Linked DNA regions of Homo sapiens: regions 1 and 2 are each linked to region 3. Evidence: promoter capture Hi-C in human tissues and cell types (Jung and others, 2019). All regions are on one chromosome and are shown on one strand. Each heading gives the region's core, a stretch centred on a gene start or on the middle of the fragment in contact. The rest is flanking DNA. Distances are from core to core; before and after follow the strand shown. Region 1 overlaps FAM118A (family with sequence similarity 118 member A). Region 2 overlaps FAM118A (family with sequence similarity 118 member A). Region 3 holds the start of UPK3A (uroplakin 3A).

Region 1 (3,868 bases), core at 532-3,031, 34 kb before region 3:
GTGAGACCCTGTCTTAAAAAGAAAAAAAAAAAGAAGAAGAAGAAGGAAGAAAAGAAAAAGAAAAATTACGTGTTTGTTTGTTTTTTTTTGATGGAGTCTCGCTTTGTCACCAGGCTGGAGTGCAGTGGCACAGGCCTGCGCCACCACATCCGGCTAATTTTTGTATTTTTCATAGAGACGGGATTTCACCATGTTAGCCAGGATGGTCTCGATCTTTGACCTTGTGATCCGCCTGCATCGGCCTCCCAAAGTGCTGGGATTACAGGCATGAGCCACAGCAACTGGCTGAAAAATCACTTTTTCACATGTGTAATCTTCACTCACACACACACACCCAGCCACTAGAATCAGGTCATCAAAAGTAATTTTCCAGGGTAAGGAAACAAGGCTTAATCAGTCCATAAGCATCATTAGATCGCAGAGCTAAATGGGATCCCCGTTATCCTTTGAAAATGTAAACAACTACCTAAGTCCATGCATATATTTTCCTAGGGAGAGTTCACAGCTTCCATCAACTCCCAAACATGTCTGCGACCTTACCCCAAATGCTAAGAAATCACAGTCCACAGGCAAAGAAAACGAGGCTCACAGATGCCTGTAACCTGCCCCAGGGAAAGACTGGCAGAGTCCGGGCTGGGGCTTGGCCCTAACACATCCTTCTTCCCATTGAGGAGTTAACATCAGTCATCAAACTAATCTTTTGTTTTTTTAATCTACTAGATACTTTCTAAGGAAAGTAACAGAAGTTGAGTTTCTCCGCTGTATAATATAATCCCTCCACCATCTATTAATAATATAAGCAACTCTGGACCCCACCCCTGAGATTTCAATGACTGATTTAACTGTTCACCAATCCTCAGTTTTATTAACCATAAAACATGGATTCTTGCCAATGGGCCGAGTTTTGAAAGCTCAGGCCTCTGTATGAAAGTGCTCTGGCAGCTGGAACTGCTGAGTCCAACAGCTCAGGCTCTGGCCTGTGGATGAGGCGGCCTGCACACTCCCGGCCTCCTGCTGTGGGGCAGGACTTGGGAGCCACTCCTGTTCAATCCTATTTGGAAGGGGACGATAAGAGGGCTCATCAGCTGGCTAATTCAAGTGCCCCCTACTCCCGCCCCCCAAAATAATCCACATCACTTCCAAATAGTTACTCCTCCCTGTCTATGAGAAGGGCTTGTTTAGTTCAGCCGTCTGTACACGACATTTTAGACTATTTTTTAAACACGCACTGGTCAACCAGTGACGTAAAAAAACCACATGCCTAAAACTGTTACCACAGTAAAGAACTTTCAAAATCTACCTCTAGTTCTTTCAACCACTGTTCAATTGCTTTCGATTCTCCACATATAAGTGATTATGGTTACAAATTCAAATCCTAAATACTGCATTTACACATCTTCAAAAACAGTATGAACAAATTAAACTTTTGCAGGCTATATTTAACTCCGAAATTAAGTGATTTCAAAGTTTCTCAAAAGAACGAGGTATCACACTATTCCTAACACTTACGTAACAGGCCACAGCTCGCACTCCTGGGTGGTCTGTGGCTCGCTTAAGTGCTCAAAACCTCTTTCTCAGCCTGAACTGCAGGTCTGGTGCTGGCTCCTCAGACAGTATTTCAAACACAACCACACGGAGTCCAACCTCAATAGGCAGATGGGCCTCTAGACTTTAATACTGATGCATACTTTTAAGGATCAAAGGAGCCAACACGGAAAGTACCCAATTATATAAAAACTCAACACAGCAACTCTGCAACTTGAACTGCACAGTTGCCCATATTTAGACATTTACAGTTCATTATCACACTACATGTTTAAAGACATTACCTCATTTCCTGTTTTACAGCAGCCTAAACATCAGAGTCAAATCTCACAATAATCTAGAAATTACCCTAAATCTCCCCCTTGTTTTTAAACCAAAATCCAAGTAAGGTGATCTCAAAAGCACTCGGCACCAGGTCCTAGAAGTTTCAGCAGGACAGCAAGCTCCAGCGTTCTGCTCCCATCCAAACACCGTCTAAGCCAATCAGATCCCAGAAAACAGTAACAAAACCCTTCGGAGGCCTTTCAGACGCTGCATCTCTCGGTTTCCTTAGTGACTATGTCGTCACCACGGTGTGTGGGCCCAGAGCCAAGTCATCATAGCAACCCTTCTTTTTTTTCAAGGACCTATCAGCATTTCTGAAAGCAAAATCTGGCCCCAGCAGAGATTCTTATAAGCAGTTCCTGTCTTTTTTAATCCAAAGCCAAACTCTTACCAGGATGCTGTCTGCTTAGAACTTAAGATCACTAGCATTTTATAAACTAGCATAGAGTAGCTAGAGACTGTCTTATTCTTCAAACCCTGGCATCCAGCACTACGTAAACGTTCATCAAACGGAGTTCAATGCAAAATACAAGCTACCAAAATCGAACTTGTTATTTACAGGTAGTAAAACAAAGTACCTCACAACCCTACCGTGGTAGGATGTTAATGGCCCCGCCCCTCATGCCTGCTGGCAGCCACACCCTTCTACAGCCCCTCACAGACTCCAGGCTTAGCCATGTGACTTTTTGGCCACTGAGATATCGGCAAATGGGATAACGGGAAGCAAGTACAAGTCCGACACACCCTTTACGACAGAGCCTGTCCCGGTGGAATTCTGCCCTGCAGAGCTCTGGCCTGCCACTTGGTGGGCAGCCGAGGTACCATCCACCCACACAAGAGCAAGGCTGCCTTGGGCCACAACTGCATGAGTGGCCCCAGCGAGCCTGGCATAAGAACCTGCTGGGCCGGGACCTGGGCCTGGCGCTGAGCTAGCAAATAGGCTGTGGCTGTTTAAACCCTGGCGGGACAGGGAGAAGCCCAGAGTGCCAAGGAAAACAGAGCAGATGGACGAATGAACGAACATCACGAGGCTCTGTGGGGAGAGGGGAATGTGTGTCAAGAACTGTAATGATTAAAAGTGGTGTAACAAAAAAACCTTAAATTACTCGCTTTCCATTACAAGCTATATGTTCACTTAACAAGCACAAACCATCAACTGGAAGTGTCCAGATTCTGGGATCCTCAAAAGTATCCTTTAAGAAAACCTTTTCTGTGTGTTTTGAGAGTGAGTTTCACTCTTGTTGCCTAGGCTAGAGTGCAATGGCGCAATCTCGGCTTGGTGCAACCTCCGCCTCCCGGGTTCAAGCAATTCTCCTGCCTCAGCCTTCCAAGTAGCTGGGATTACAGGCACACGCCACTAAACCTGGATAAGTTTGTGGTTTTTCAGTAGAGACAGGTTTCACCATGTTGGTCAGAGGCTGGTCTCGAACTCCTGACCTCAAGCAATCCACTTGCCTCAGCTTCCCAAAGTGCTGGGATTACAGGTGTGAGCCACTGTGCCCAACTTTCTTAATTTCTTTCTATAAATAGATGATCACATGGGCTTTGAGCAGTTTCAAAAAGCAAGGAGATAAGGGTGTCCAAGCAGCATCTGATTACAATGAAGCAAGAGGGACTCAGAGTAAACATAAGCTCAAACTACATCCATCTCACACAGGAGTGAGTGGTGTCACATTTACTCGGCAAAGTTTCCGAATGCTCACCTTTAACTCACCTGTAGTCAATCCACAGTGATCATAAAATGACCCCAGAATTTGCAAAGTCAGACAAGGTCACTGTGACTACAAAGGAGTTGATTTATGTTGAGCCCTTAGAGCAAAGCCCGGCAACACAGTAGGCTATTAGTACCAATATTACCACTGCCACTGTGACAAAAGCGCCTCACACTAAGAAAGCATTTATAAATGTGCTACTGACAGGAGACAAGAGGCTGGGAAATACTAAATTTAATCAGTGTAGCCAGGGTGGATCTTGAGGACTGGAATGTCCTTAAAGGAGG
Region 2 (3,649 bases), core at 974-3,473, 53 kb before region 3:
TCTCACAGGTATTGAAGAAAACCCCTGCCCAATGCTCCACAGCAAGGTCTACCAGGCAGTAGGCCCTACCCGCGATGTGCACACCAGTCAGAGGTAGGCCACGGGGGGACAAAATCTATGTACACACAACAGCAGCAACAGCAGAAGAAAGCCAATCTATTGAGAATAATCGCCCGGGCCTTCGTTCTTGTCAGCAGGCACTGGAGGAGCCCAGATATGCAGAAAACAAAACAATGAACGTGAAAGAAAGTAGTGGAAAAGAACCACCTACCCCGGAGGAAACAGTTCACAGAACACCAGTTTTGTGTTTTGTTTTTACTTATATGATGGTTCTACTAGCTGAACTCACAATCCAAATATTTGCAAAAAGATTTCAAACAGTTTGATCCAAAACAATATCAAAATCGAATTCTCTAAAACATGTGTGCCCCCAAGTGCATTTGAAGTTGTATAAAACTATTATTATTATTTTATCTTTTTTGAAACGGAGTCTTGCTCTGTCGCCCAGGCTGGAGTACAATGGTGTGATCTCGGCTCACTGCAACCTCCGCCTCCTGGGTTCAAGCAATTCTCCTGCCTCAGCCTCCTGAGTAGCTGGGACTACAGTAGGCGCCCGCCACCACACCCAGTTAATTTTTGTATTTTTAGTAGAGACGGGGTTTCGCCATGTTGGCCAGGCTGACCTGGCCTCAGGTGATTCACCTGCCTCAGCCTCCCAAAGTGCTGGTAATATAGGCGTGAACCACTAAGCCCAGCCAAAGTTGTATAAAACTAAATGAGAGGATGTCGAGTCTGTGACAGCTGCCCCTCACAGCTCTCCCACAAGGACTGCCACATCAGCTCACTCTCATCTTCCCTGCCCCTGGACGGCAGGACGCTAGGGCGCCCCCACCCCCTGCCACCAGCCCTCGCTTGTGCTATAATTCACTCTGCAGGTGGCCCTTTTAGAACTGCCTTATTTTACTTGACTAAATTTGCACTCACTAAGAATCTTTATAACATGGACTATTGCACATGGTCCCTGTGGTGTTGAAGGAACGTGCAGGGACATGATACTGCTCCAGCATACCCACTGAAGGATTTAAATGTTAAATGAAGAGGTAACTGATAAGCTGGATGCTTCGTAGCTCTCAGAAATTTTGGGTGGACTGCTATATAGGTATTTAAGAGTGTTTTACTTTGGCTTACTTATATAAAGTACTAAATATAAACTCCTATTATATGAAAATCCTCTCTCAATGTTTTCAGGAATGTAGTAGAGTCAGATAACCAGGTTGACTTCTGTCTCCAGAGTTCTCGCAGACTTACAACAGCAGATGCTCTGAGAAAAGGTAACTAAGAAAACAAGAGCTTGGCCGGGCGCAGTGGCTCACGCCTATAATCCCAGCAGTTTGGGAAGCCAAAGTGGGTGGATCACAAGGTCAGGAGTTTGAGACCAGCCTGGCCAACATAGTGAAACCCCATCTCTACTAAAAGTACAAAATTAGTCGGGCATGGTGGTGTGCGACTGTAGTCCCAGCTGCTCAGGAGGCTGAGGCAGGAAAACAGCTTGAATCCAAGAAGCGGAGGTTGTGGTGAGCCGAGATCGCGCCACTGCACTCCAGCCTGGGCAACAGAGCAAGACTCTGTCTCAAAAAATAAAAAAAAAGACATCAGAGAAAACTTAAAAGACGGTGGAAATCAATCCAGGCAATCCCAACTAGTATGACTTCCAGAAAGGGAGAACAGAGAAGATGGAAAGAAGAAATAAAGAGAATCACAGACCATTCCAGAACTGGAGAAATGGAAGAGGAAAAAGAACATGTGAGTAAGGCAGGTAAAAAAGTTTTCCACCTAAATACATCCTCATTGAATTTCTAATCAAGGGAAAAGAGGATCCTAAAAACTCCCAGGAAAAAAAGCAACGGGTACCTTCAAATCACTGGGAACAGGTTCCCATCAGACCCTCTTCATAGGAAACCTGGTCTTCAGACAGTGGAGTCCGGGGGAATCACAACGGAGAATCCCATGCCAAAACTCCCGCGAGCATGAGGATGGCACAGACACCTGCAGACACATGGCCCTCAGGAGGCGACCCCACACTGGGGTCTGCAGAAGCGGCCTCAGGAGGTACTAGCAGGATGGATGGGGGGCCAGAGCAAGGGAGACCTAGGCCTCCATCTCAGAGAGAAGGAGGGGAGCTCAGGAGGTAGCAGTCCCCAGCGGAGCCGACCAGGAGAAGGTGTCCTGGGAGATGTGGGGTGGCAGGATGAAGAGAATGCATACTTTTTTTAAAAAAAAATTTCTTATTCAGTTCTGAAAGCTGAGGGAGTGCATACATTTAAGAATATTGGGAAACGTTAGTTTTTGGAACACAAAGGGGAAAGAAGAACCTAAAAACTCCTCAAAAAGTAAGAAGTAACACAAATGTCTTCAAGCCCCAATATTAAACAATAAAAAATGGGAGAATGGAATATAAGAACAAGCCACATTTGACCCTGACATTGAGGACACATCCGCAGCTGGCACAGGCGGCGTGGCACTGGGCCCACAGACACAACACACATGCTGGCTAAGCAGGAAAGAACACTGACGCTGTTTTCATCACGGAAATGCTTTTGTTTGCCAACTTTTACAATCAACCTACAGACAGACTGGGGGTCTCGTTTCCTTTCTGTCCTGTCACCACGGAGACCGACAAAACGGGGAAGCCAGCGGGCTAGGGGGTGGGATACGCATGTGGGGGCCCATCCAGCCCAGGCTTCGTGTGGGGAAGTCTGGCTTAAGTATGTTATTTAAAGAATGAGAAATAACACACAGCACTACGCAAACCTGGGAGGAGGAGGAGGGGAGGAGAGGGAGGGACCGGCACGAACAAGCGAGATCGCCCTTCATAGCGTCAACAGAGAGGCCTATTCAAATACACTGTTTAGATAAATAGTTCAATCACTTAAATAAATCTTAGTCTGTAACAGAGGCAACAAAGCTCAAATGAGTTAAAGTGCTTTTCTCCAGAGACTCAGGTGACATGCATCAGGCTAGTGGTCACCCTTGGGGGCTGGAGGAGGCTGGACAGTGACAAGGGGTGTCCTGGCAATGCTGCTTCCTCAACTGCGTGTGATTAGATGGGAGCGTTCACTTCGCAAAAATGCGGAGCTGACCTTATGTAACTTGTGCACTTTTTATTCATCTTTTTAACTTTTCTTTTTGGAGAGAGCACCTTCTGCCCGCTGCACCTTCTTAGTGTATGTTTTCTCCGTAACATTTTTCTAAAGAGGTACCAGTAGCTCTGGGCAGTTGGAATCGGGTTGGGGTGAGAGGTCAGGGTCTCTGCTAAGTAAGCCTCCTGTGCTCTCTGGCCCTGACAGAACGTATGCACCGTCCTCCCACCATAGGGCGCGGGGCATTAAAGCGCAGCACGGTCCCTGAAGATGCCTGCCAACAAGAGAGACCCGAGGCAGCTCCCCACAAAAAGAACAGACACAATACCAGTATCTGATTGTGTGCGTTTTTTTGAAACTTCAATTCCATTCTCTTCTAACTTCCTCTTTGCACAGTCCTGGCATGCATTACCTAAAAGAGAAGAATTTATTAAGAAGCTTGTTTATTCAGAATCCACTCGCCAAGGCACAGTTCATAATGTGACCTTACTGAAGCACTGGCCAAGCAG
Region 3 (3,833 bases), core at 18-2,517:
GTACCTGTTTAATGAGACGACTACAGGCATGGAGGGTTCCTCTATCTGCCTCCTTCCCTCCTCCCTGCAGACAGGTCAGAGCCCCTTTTGGAGTAGCCAGAGGGAAGCAGGACCCTTACCTGAGTCGACCAGGACATACAGGTAGACCTCGTGGGTGCCAGTGAGGGCCTCTTTGCTGTCAAACATGCAGAGAGGCTTTTCCAAGGCCACAGTGGTAAGTGTGGGGTTGTTGGTGGCGAAAGTCACACTGGCCAGTTGGGGCTGCAGGTTCACAGCTGGAGGAGGCAGTGAGGATGGGAACTGACCTCCGGCAGAACTGTCCACACCCACTCTGCTTGCAGTTACTGAGCACGTGTTGTGTGCCAGGCCCTGGGCTTCACCCTCCCCCTGGGCCACCGCATAAGCTGTCTCAGACACTGCCCCCTGCCCAGTCATCCTGCTCAGAAATGGAGCGGTCGGGCCAAACTGCTGCCTTCTCTCCCTGCTGCAGACACTCAGTTGCCAAGAACTCCACTGCCCCTCCTAAGCATCTCTCCATGCCATCGGCCCAGCCCTCCTCCGTCCCACCTTCCTCACCTGGGCCCTCCCCCCACATGCAAGTCTGACTGCCTCATTCTCTGGCTATGGCCCTCCCATGGTCCCCCAGCGCCCCCTGACGAAGTCCAGCCTCTCTGGAAAGGCAGTGAGGTCCTGAAGTTCTGGGCTTTGCTTTGTTCGGTCTCCAGCCTCACCCCTTCCCCCACAGGCTCCCCTCACCCCAGGCTCCAGCTGGTCCCATGGACTGGCAGTTCCCAGGACAGCCCAATATTGTCTCCCCTCCATGAACTTGCCCATGCTGCTTCCTCGGCCGAAATATCTCTCTATCTGCCCCCGTCCAGGCGTCACCATGGGGCTGGGGCTAGTCCCTTCTCTGTCCTACCGCAGCCCCCCTGCATGTTGGTCTCTTGCAACACACATCGCAGGGCTGCAGCCATCTGTGAGCCCTCGGATTCCCAACAGAGGAGGCCCGTAAACGTTGGCTATCACTATTATTCATAACAGTAATATCTGGGTCCCCAGCGCCAGGAATCAGGGTCCAGGCGGCGGGCGCCCCAGGGCAGAGCTGCCCGCTCTTTCTGGGCTCAGCCCCCTCCTGCCCTTCACCGCCTACCCGAGCCGAACCGCAGGCAGCCGAGGGCCAGCAGGGCCCAGAGCGGAGGCATCGCCCGGGAGGAGCCGCCAGAGCGCGGGGCGGGCGGTCCAGCGAGCAGGCGCGGGCACCAGACCTGTCCCTGCCAGGGCACCTGCCAGCTCTGGGCCCTCGGCGCGCCCCGCCCCCGCCTGGGCTGGCCAATCCGCGGCCTCCTCGCGCGCTATTTGCATACGGCCCTGCCCCGGGCTTCCCCGACCCGTGCGCGGTGCCCCAGGGCGCAATCCCACCGGGCAGGACCTTCTCCAGCCCGCATCAAAGCGCCTACTGTGTGCCCAGGCCAGGGCAGCCCTTCCACAGCGTCTCTCACCAATGGGACCTTGAGGGCAAGCCACTCCCACTTGGAGCCTCAGTTTCCATACTGTAAAATGACGCTAATTTCTACAACTATTTATGGAGGCTCTATTACGTGCCAAACACTCACTGGGCACTCGCGAAACAAAATGGGTTGACCAGTAAAGGTGATATCCTGGAAAACGAAGTCCAGGCCTGGGAGCTATCCAGAGACCCTAGTATGACGCCTAGTATGACCCCTTCGGTTCACAGGTACAAGCCAAGGCCCGGGAGGCTGGGGGGTGGGGCAGGGGGTAAGTATTGGAGCGTGGTGGGGGGCGCGGGGACAGGGACTCACCCCCGGCCGCGCTTGGTCTCCTGGAGACACTGAGGCTGGTGGAACCCAGGAGTCCAGTGCTCAGCCCAGGGCTGCCTCCAAAGGGATGGAGCAGGGTGTTAATGCCTACTTCTTAAAGGGGCGTTTGAAAATTATGATGGACTCCTCACCATGACTGTGCGGTTCCCTCCATCACAAGAATCTGTGCACATCTCTGGATGCACCTTAAATCAATTTTACATTTAAGAAATAAAAGTAAGTCAACAAGGATAGGAAAAAAACAACAGAAGAGGGGCAAGGAGGCTCATGCCTGTAATCCCAACACTTTGGGAGGTCAAGATAGGAGGATCCCTTGAGGCCAGGAGCTAGAGACCATCCTGGGCATCATAGTGAGACCCCATCTCTACCAAAAAAAAAAAAAAAAAAATTAGCTCAGCCTAGTGGGGCATGCCTGTAGTCCCAGGATTGCTTGAGCCCAGGAGGTCGAGGCTACAGTGAACTATGATCATGCCACTTTGAGCTATGATTAAAGCTGCAATAACAGAGCCAGACCCTGTCTCTTAGAAAAAAGATAAAGAAAATCAACAGAAACTAATTAATCTCTGTATGACGTTGATGACATAACCTCACTTGCAGAAAAAGAATAAAACGATCTGAGTAATTATAGAGCTGGGTTGTCCAGGGGTACCTCCTTAGTGGAGTACACTCTAAGAACTGGGAGGCCTGTGACAGAACCCCAAACCTCACTAGTGACTTTGTTATTGGCAGTGGGGAGGGCGGAGCCATTCCGAAGCAACTTTGGGTTATCCTAGGATTGGTGGTACCAGAACCCAGATTCTCACTGTAGGATGAGGGAGATTTGGAATGGAGGAAGGAAGCACATGAGGTCAGTGTGTCCCATTATTGGGGATGTTCCATTTCATCATTTGGTAAAGTTGGTATCTCTGGATTAATGTATGTCTTGTTCCCTAAAAATCTTTTTTTTCTTTTTTTTTTTGGGGGGGACGGAGTCTTGCTCTGTCACCCAGGCTGGAGTGCAGTGGCGTGATCTCGGCTCACTGCAAGCTCCACTTCCCACGTTCACGCCATTCTTCTGCCTCAGCCTCCCGAGTAGCTGGGACTACAGGCACCTGCCACCATGCCTGGCTGATATTTTGTATTGTTTTAGTAGAGACGGGGTTTCGCTGTGTTAGCCAGGATGGTCTCAATCTCCTGACCTTGTGATCCACGCACCTCAGCCTCCCAAAGTGCTGGGATTACAGGCGTGAGCCACCGCGCCCGGCCCTTGATCCCTAAAAATCTTTCCCCAGCTGGATGCGGTGGCTCACGCTTGTAATCCCAGCACTTTGAGAGGCCGAGGTGGGCAGATCATGAGGTCAGGAGTTTGAGACCAGCCTGGCCAACACAGTGAAACCCCTTCTCTACTAAATATACAAAAAAACCCAAAAAACTAGCCAGGCGTGGTGGCAGGCGCCTGTAGTCCCAGCTACTTGGACATCCATGTCCCGCCCAAAAGGTTTAACTTGAATCTCATCAATAGGAAACCATCAGACAGTTCTCAGCCTTTTGTTTTGTTTTGCTTCTGTCTTTCCTGATGTGAACATTTGCAAAGCATCCAGTCCAGCTGGTTTGCAGAAAGTCCCTGCATGTGGATCTGTCTGATGGTTTCCTATTGATGAAATTCAAGTTAAACCTTTTGGGCAGGACATGGTCATGACGGTGAGTTCTAATCAGTGCTACTTGGGAGGCTGAGGCAGGAGAATCTCTTGGACCCAGGAGGTGGAGGTTTCAGTGAGCTGAGATCGCGCCGTGCCACTGTAATCCAGCCTGGGTGACACAGTGAGACTCCGTCTCAAAAAAAAAAAAAAAGCAAGCTGAATGTATGACTTCCATTATTTATTTTGTGCTCAAATGTTCCCAGGCCTGGCTGTTGGCAGCTCCTTCCAGCAGCTCTGTGCTAGCTGCTTTCACGCTCCCACCATTCTTTGAGAACCTCTTTACTTTCTGGCACAATAAAATGTCCCGGGCTCCTCT

What was found. Contacts are between HindIII fragments. The study calls those that stand out against the background at their distance.
Region 1: a fragment that was not itself captured here is called in contact with the fragment with the promoter of UPK3A in region 3 in 2 of the 25 tissues and cell types used here (spleen and stomach).
Region 2: a contact is called between a fragment that was not itself captured here and the fragment with the promoter of UPK3A in region 3, in 1 of the 25 tissues and cell types used here (ovary).

Annotation. Positions count from the first base shown.
Region 1 is chr22:45,316,602-45,320,469 of GRCh38, reverse strand. All of the region lies in intron 1 of FAM118A (family with sequence similarity 118 member A), which reads right to left. Among named protein-coding and RNA genes, the nearest start is that of FAM118A, 8.6 kb to the right of the region's middle. RefSeq lists enhancers at 1,819-1,888, 1,939-1,988. The HindIII fragment of the contact is 9,677 bases long and covers 1-3,868 here.
Region 2 is chr22:45,336,231-45,339,879 of GRCh38, reverse strand. FAM118A (family with sequence similarity 118 member A) reads right to left here. Exons shown (of 9, transcript NM_017911.4): 8 at 3,469-3,552. Among named protein-coding and RNA genes, the nearest start is that of FAM118A, 28 kb to the right of the region's middle. The HindIII fragment of the contact is 3,238 bases long and covers 605-3,649 here.
Region 3 is chr22:45,282,383-45,286,215 of GRCh38, reverse strand. It overlaps UPK3A (uroplakin 3A), which reads right to left and starts at 1,267. Exons shown (of 6, transcript NM_006953.4): 1 at 1,151-1,267; 2 at 120-275. The coding sequence starts at 1,202. RefSeq lists a silencer at 1,137-1,446. The HindIII fragment of the contact is 20,192 bases long and covers 1-3,833 here.